Regions from separate parts of the Homo sapiens genome. Here region 1 is linked to region 2. Evidence: promoter capture Hi-C in human tissues and cell types (Jung and others, 2019). All regions are on one chromosome and are shown on one strand. The core of a region is centred on a gene start or on the middle of the fragment in contact, and the rest is flanking DNA. Distances in the headings are between cores, read along the strand shown. Region 1 overlaps ZFP90 (ZFP90 zinc finger protein). Region 2 holds the start of CDH1 (cadherin 1).

The links. Contacts are between HindIII fragments. The study calls those that stand out against the background at their distance.
Region 1: a fragment that was not itself captured here is called in contact with the fragment with the promoter of CDH1 in region 2 in 2 of the 25 tissues and cell types used here (adrenal gland and liver).

Annotation. Positions count from the first base shown.
Region 1 is chr16:68,565,568-68,568,915 of GRCh38, forward strand. It overlaps ZFP90 (ZFP90 zinc finger protein), which reads left to right. Exons shown (of 5, transcript NM_001305203.2): 5 at 1-1,564. Among named protein-coding and RNA genes, the nearest start is that of ZFP90, 28 kb to the left of the region's middle. The HindIII fragment of the contact is 4,837 bases long and covers 1-3,348 here.
Region 2 is chr16:68,735,820-68,738,747 of GRCh38, forward strand. It overlaps CDH1 (cadherin 1), which reads left to right and starts at 1,473. Exons shown (of 16, transcript NM_004360.5): 1 at 1,473-1,644; 2 at 2,478-2,592. The coding sequence starts at 1,597. RefSeq lists an enhancer at 494-638, a cis regulatory region at 566 and a silencer at 1,519-1,588. The HindIII fragment of the contact is 7,364 bases long and covers 1-2,928 here.

The sequences.
Region 1 (3,348 bases), core at 844-3,343, 170 kb before region 2:
TTTCAGCTAACATATGCCAGTTTCACAGAACTATTAAGTCCCCTTATTGTACTTTTTATGGCATGCCCATGAAAAAGCACTTTCTTAAGCCTACAGTATCAGATCAATGGGAAAACAACAGAAAACTAAGAGGAGAATTTTCCCGTTAATTTTCTTGCAGAAAAGTTAAGTCTAATTGCCCATTGCCATAAATTTTGCCTTGTACTCAGAGAAGCAACATGCACTGGCTCATTTTATGTGCAAAGAAAAGATTTCACCATTAAAAAAATTAACTTGGCTAGGTATGGTGTCTCACACCTGTAATCCCAGCACTTTGGGTGGCTAAGGCAGATAGACTGCTTGAACCCAGGAGTTCAAGACCAGCCTGGACAACATGGTGAAACCCCATCTCTTTAAAAAAAAAAAAAAATCCAAAAATTAGCTGGGCATGGTGGCATGCAGTGGTAGTCCCAGCTACTCAGGAGGCTGAGGTGGGAGGATCACTGGAACCCGGGAGCAGAGACTGCAGTGAGCTGAGATCACACTACTGCATTCCAGCCTGAGCAACAGAGCAAGACACACACACATCAATTTATTTTAGTTGTATAATGCTTTTCTATTAGTAAAGCATCAGCTAAGCTTCAGTGGCCTGCTCCATCCCCTAATGACTCCCATGGGCTATCCTAAAGGAACTTCCAGAACCTTTGTTGGTGTGTTGACATTGACCATGCAGACCAATTTGGGCACAACTGGACATTGATTCCTTTTACACAAGAGCTGCCTCCCAAAGATAGATAAATTTTCCCAGCCCTAAATATGAATCATGGGGCAAGATATTGGTCGTATTGATGGTGAACCTTTCCTACTGGATTCTTTGCATGCCACATAGCAGGATTCATTGCCTTTCTCTCATCATGGATGGCATGCAGCAGCACCCAAGTATTCTTCATTCTTTGCAGGGAAAAAATTGTGCATGGGGGCTGAAATGTAATATGTGTAGCTCAATTAGTCTCTCCTCTGTGATGCAAAATGGAATATTCAATGGCAGATCTGCCCTTCTGAGATGCTGACCATCCAAAACACCTTGTTTATGGTGCACCATGATTAGCTCACACACAATGCCAAGGCTGTGCTTCTATTATCTGATACATAGTTTGACAATGGGTAATTCTACTCAGACCCTCCCTACTGATTGGCTAGGATGCCTGTCAGGAACTCATTATGCTACTGGTTGTTTGGGGATCCCCATAGTGGACTACTTTCAGGAATGGCATGAATTGTAACCAACTGAGTGCTGCCCCCACTGTTACGGAAGTTTATAAAACCTTAGTTCCAGAAGACCCAAAGGAGAGTACTGGTTTGTGTTTGGTGCTTGGCCTAGATCCAGCCACCACTCTGAAACTCAGCACATCTTCATTGACAGGGAGGGAGCCCAGGACATATGTGTGGCTCATTGACCAGAAGGCTTTCTTAGTCCCAACAGCCATGAACCATGCACTTATGGATACCCAGCCTTTTAGGGCTACGTGAAATGCATCCTTGTAACATCATTGTATTCTTTCAATAAATAGCCTTCTGAGTTGAATGGGAGTCAGTTTGTCGTTTTCAATTTTCAGAACTTGGCTAAGATTAAAGAGTGGTGCACCAAGAGGGAGGAATTAACTGCTAAACTCATCACAGCCAGGTGAGTTAATAGCTACCATTTATTGAATGCTTACTACTTTAAAGACATTGTGCTAGGTGTTTCACATCTGTCATTCAATCCTTATAACTTCTGGTTAGCGGTGTGGTGGTAGTTCTTGTCTTTGCCCAGCATTTTCCCCCTTTTCCTCTTGCAACAATCTGATTGTATTGACTGTAGGAACCTAAATCAGGATGTCCCTGGGGCTCACTGATAGTTTTAGGGGCAGGCATGAGACCTAGTTCAGCTAATCAGAGTCCTTTGCCAGAATTTTTTCCAAGTAGAGCTGGAAGGAGCCCTACTTTGGGCTTTTGTGTTGCTAGGCCAAAAGATAAAGGCCTAGAGCTTCCTGGAACCTGATTTCTTACCAGAGATGGGAAGTAGGAGAGGACAAGGTTGACATGATGGTGTTCTTGTTTCTATTTCCTGATGTCCTTAGACCTGGCTCAATTTCTGAAGCTCTCCTTGGGATTCAGGAAGCTCCCCATCAGTCCAACAGTTTCTCCTTTTTGCTCAAGCTAATTTTTTATGTTTGTTGCTTGCATTAAAGAAACCTAAAATATGTATGATATACTTTTACCTGCCAGAGCATCTAGCGCACCTCCATGGAAGATGAGAAAAGACTTCTGCACTTTTAGGCATATTGATGGTGGTGATGCTTGGTTTTTTTAATAGCTGCAGTAGGCTTTTCACTTTGCAGTATTCTGACTTCAAGATTGAGCACTTTTTAAAAATACTAAGGTGGTTAATTCCTACTCATCTGTTAAAATGCAAATGGTGCTTCAGGAAAGGTTTTGCTGACTCTCCTATTTCAATTACATTGGTCTCCCTTTTAAAAATTTTCATGGATTACTGTTAATGTCCTCCATGTTACCACAGTTTGTATTTGTGATTATTTGGTTTTCTTTTTCCTACACTAGATGGTGAGTTCCAGGAAGGCAAGAGTCCATGTCTGTTTTGATAGCTCTTTTTATTACCCTGCTAATTAATGCCAGGCATATGGTAGATACTTAATATAGTGATATAGTGTTTTAAGTGAGCAATTGAGTGGAGATTGATTGCTAGACAAAGAAGACTGGTAGGTAAATGAAAAGATGCTCAATCTTGAAGTCAGAATATTGCAAAATAAAACAATGTAATACTGTTTCCTACCAATTAGGCTGGCAAAAATTGAGAAATCTGGCAGAGGGGAATTAGAACTTTTATACACTGCTGGCAAGAGGGTAACTTGGTATAATTATTTTGGGGAGTAATTTGGCAATATCCAGTAAAATCAAAGCTAAGCATATCTCATGTCTCAGCAATACCACTAGGAGATACATATCCTAGACTAGAAATTCTCCCTTGTGAGGAAAAGAGACACACACAAAGATGTTTATTGAGGCAGTGTTTTAAAGAGTAAAAATATGAACACAACAGAAATACTGGGAAGTGAATAGGTTAACAATAAGTCATGGCATATTCTTTTTGAGACAGGGTCTTGCCTTGTCACCCAGGCTGGAGTGCAGCAGTACGATCTCAGCTCACTGCAGCCTCCACCTCCCAGGTTCAAGTGATTCTCATGTTTCAGCATCCCAAGTAGCTGGGACCACAGGTGTGCACCACCACACCCGACTAATTTTTGTATTTTTAGTAGAGATGAGTTTTCGCTATGTTGGCCAGGCTGGTTTCGAACTCCTGGCCTCAAG
Region 2 (2,928 bases), core at 223-2,722:
TTTGTATTTTTAGTAGAGACGGGGTTTCACTGCGTTAGCCAGGATGGTCTCAATCTCCTGACCTCGTGATCTGCCCGCCTCGGCCTCCCAAAGTGCTGGGATTACAGGCGTGAGCCACCATGCCTGGCCCTATTGTTACTATTTTTACCCCTCACTTCTGTACAGAGCATTTATGGCTCAAGAAACATTTGTCATTTTAATTGTATGGGAGTCCCACAACAGCATAGGGAGACATTTCTGATCATTATTCCCATTAGGAGGGTGGAGAAACTGAGGCTTTGGGAGGTGGTCCTGACCTAGGGAATCAATTTGCTGACTCACTAACCCATGAAGCTCTACAGTTAAAAAAGACTAGATTAAAAAATGAGAACTCAGTAAAGGGGCTGAGGCAGGAGGATCGCCTGAGTTCAGAAATTTGAGATCAGCCTCGGCAACATAGTGAGATCCCCTCTCTAGAAAAATTTTTTAAAAAATTAGGCCGCTCGAGGCAGAGTGCAGTGGCTCACGCCTGTAATCCAACACTTCAGGAGGCTGAAGAGGGTGGATCACCTGAGGTCAGGAGTTCCAGACCAGCCTGGCCAACATGGTGAAACCCCGTCTGTACTAAAAATACAAAATTAGCCGGTGTGGTGGCACACGCCTGTAGTCCCAGCTACTCAATAGGCTGAGACAGGAGAGTCTCTTGAACCCGGCAGGCGGAGGTTGCAGTGAGCCGAGATCGTGCCACTGCACTCCAGCCTGGGCAAGACAGAGCGAGACTCCGTCTCAAAAAATACAAACAAAACAAACAAACAAAAAATTAGGCTGCTAGCTCAGTGGCTCATGGCTCACACCTGAAATCCTAGCACTTTGGGAGGCCAAGGCAGGAGGATCGCTTCAGCCCAGGAGTTCGAGACCAGGCTGGGCAATACAGGGAGACACAGCGCCCCCACTGCCCCTGTCCGCCCCGACTTGTCTCTCTACAAAAAGGCAAAAGAAAAAAAAATTAGCCTGGCGTGGTGGTGTGCACCTGTACTCCCAGCTACTAGAGAGGCTGGGGCCAGAGGACCGCTTGAGCCCAGGAGTTCGAGGCTGCAGTGAGCTGTGATCGCACCACTGCACTCCAGCTTGGGTGAAAGAGTGAGACCCCATCTCCAAAACGAACAAACAAAAAATCCCAAAAAACAAAAGAACTCAGCCAAGTGTAAAAGCCCTTTCTGATCCCAGGTCTTAGTGAGCCACCGGCGGGGCTGGGATTCGAACCCAGTGGAATCAGAACCGTGCAGGTCCCATAACCCACCTAGACCCTAGCAACTCCAGGCTAGAGGGTCACCGCGTCTATGCGAGGCCGGGTGGGCGGGCCGTCAGCTCCGCCCTGGGGAGGGGTCCGCGCTGCTGATTGGCTGTGGCCGGCAGGTGAACCCTCAGCCAATCAGCGGTACGGGGGGCGGTGCCTCCGGGGCTCACCTGGCTGCAGCCACGCACCCCCTCTCAGTGGCGTCGGAACTGCAAAGCACCTGTGAGCTTGCGGAAGTCAGTTCAGACTCCAGCCCGCTCCAGCCCGGCCCGACCCGACCGCACCCGGCGCCTGCCCTCGCTCGGCGTCCCCGGCCAGCCATGGGCCCTTGGAGCCGCAGCCTCTCGGCGCTGCTGCTGCTGCTGCAGGTACCCCGGATCCCCTGACTTGCGAGGGACGCATTCGGGCCGCAAGCTCCGCGCCCCAGCCCTGCGCCCCTTCCTCTCCCGTCGTCACCGCTTCCCTTCTTCCAAGAAAGTTCGGGTCCTGAGGAGCGGAGCGGCCTGGAAGCCTCGCGCGCTCCGGACCCCCCAGTGATGGGAGTGGGGGGTGGGTGGTGAGGGGCGAGCGCGGCTTTCCTGCCCCCTCCAGCGCAGACCGAGGCGGGGGCGTCTGGCCGCGGAGTCCGCGGGGTGGGCTCGCGCGGGCGGTGGGGGCGTGAAGCGGGGTGTAGGGGGTGGGGTGTGGAGAAGGGGTGCCCTGGTGCAAGTCGAGGGGGAGCCAGGAGTCGTGGGGACGATCTTCGAGGGAAGGAGAGGGGCATCCGTAGAAATAAAGGCACCTGCCATGCCAAGAAAGGTCGTAAATAGGAGTGAGGGTCCCGGGGATAAGAAAGTGAGGTCGGAGGAGGTGGGAGCGCCCCTCGCTCTGAGGAGTGGTGCATTCCCGGTCTAAGGAAAGTGGGGTACTGGAGAATAAAGACATCTCCAATAAAATGAGAAAGGAGACTGAAAGGGAACGGTGGGCTAGGTCTTGAGGGGGTGACTCGGCGGCCCCCTCCCGGGAGTTCCTGGGGGCTCGGCGGCCGTAGGTTTCGGGGTGGGGGAGGGTGACGTCGCTGCCCGCCCGTCCCGGGGCTGCGGGCTGGGGTCCTCCCCCAATCCCGACGCCGGGAGCGAGGGAGGGGCGGCGCTGTTGGTTTCGGTGAGCAGGAGGGAACCCTCCGAGTCACCCGGTTCCATCTACCTTTCCCCCACCCCAGGTCTCCTCTTGGCTCTGCCAGGAGCCGGAGCCCTGCCACCCTGGCTTTGACGCCGAGAGCTACACGTTCACGGTGCCCCGGCGCCACCTGGAGAGAGGCCGCGTCCTGGGCAGAGGTGAGGGCGCGCTGCCGGTGTCCCTGGGCGGAGTAGGGAGGGGTTGGAAAGGGGCCGAGAAATTGCACTCCCACACCCCTGGGTTGCAATGGGCAAGCTCCCTCCTTGGCTCAAACGACACCCCTTGGAATTTACGCAGATTTGGGGATCCAAACGTTTACGACTGAACACTGTGGTGGAGGGGGTAACCCTGCCTGGTTGTTGACTATGTTATAAAGAAGAGGAGGTTGAGGGCACTTACTAGAAGCCTTCGTATTTCTCTTATTGCCCTCAGCACTGTAGAGACAGTCTCTCATTTCAGACTGCAAAAACCTGGTGGGTGGGAAGGCCTGGCAG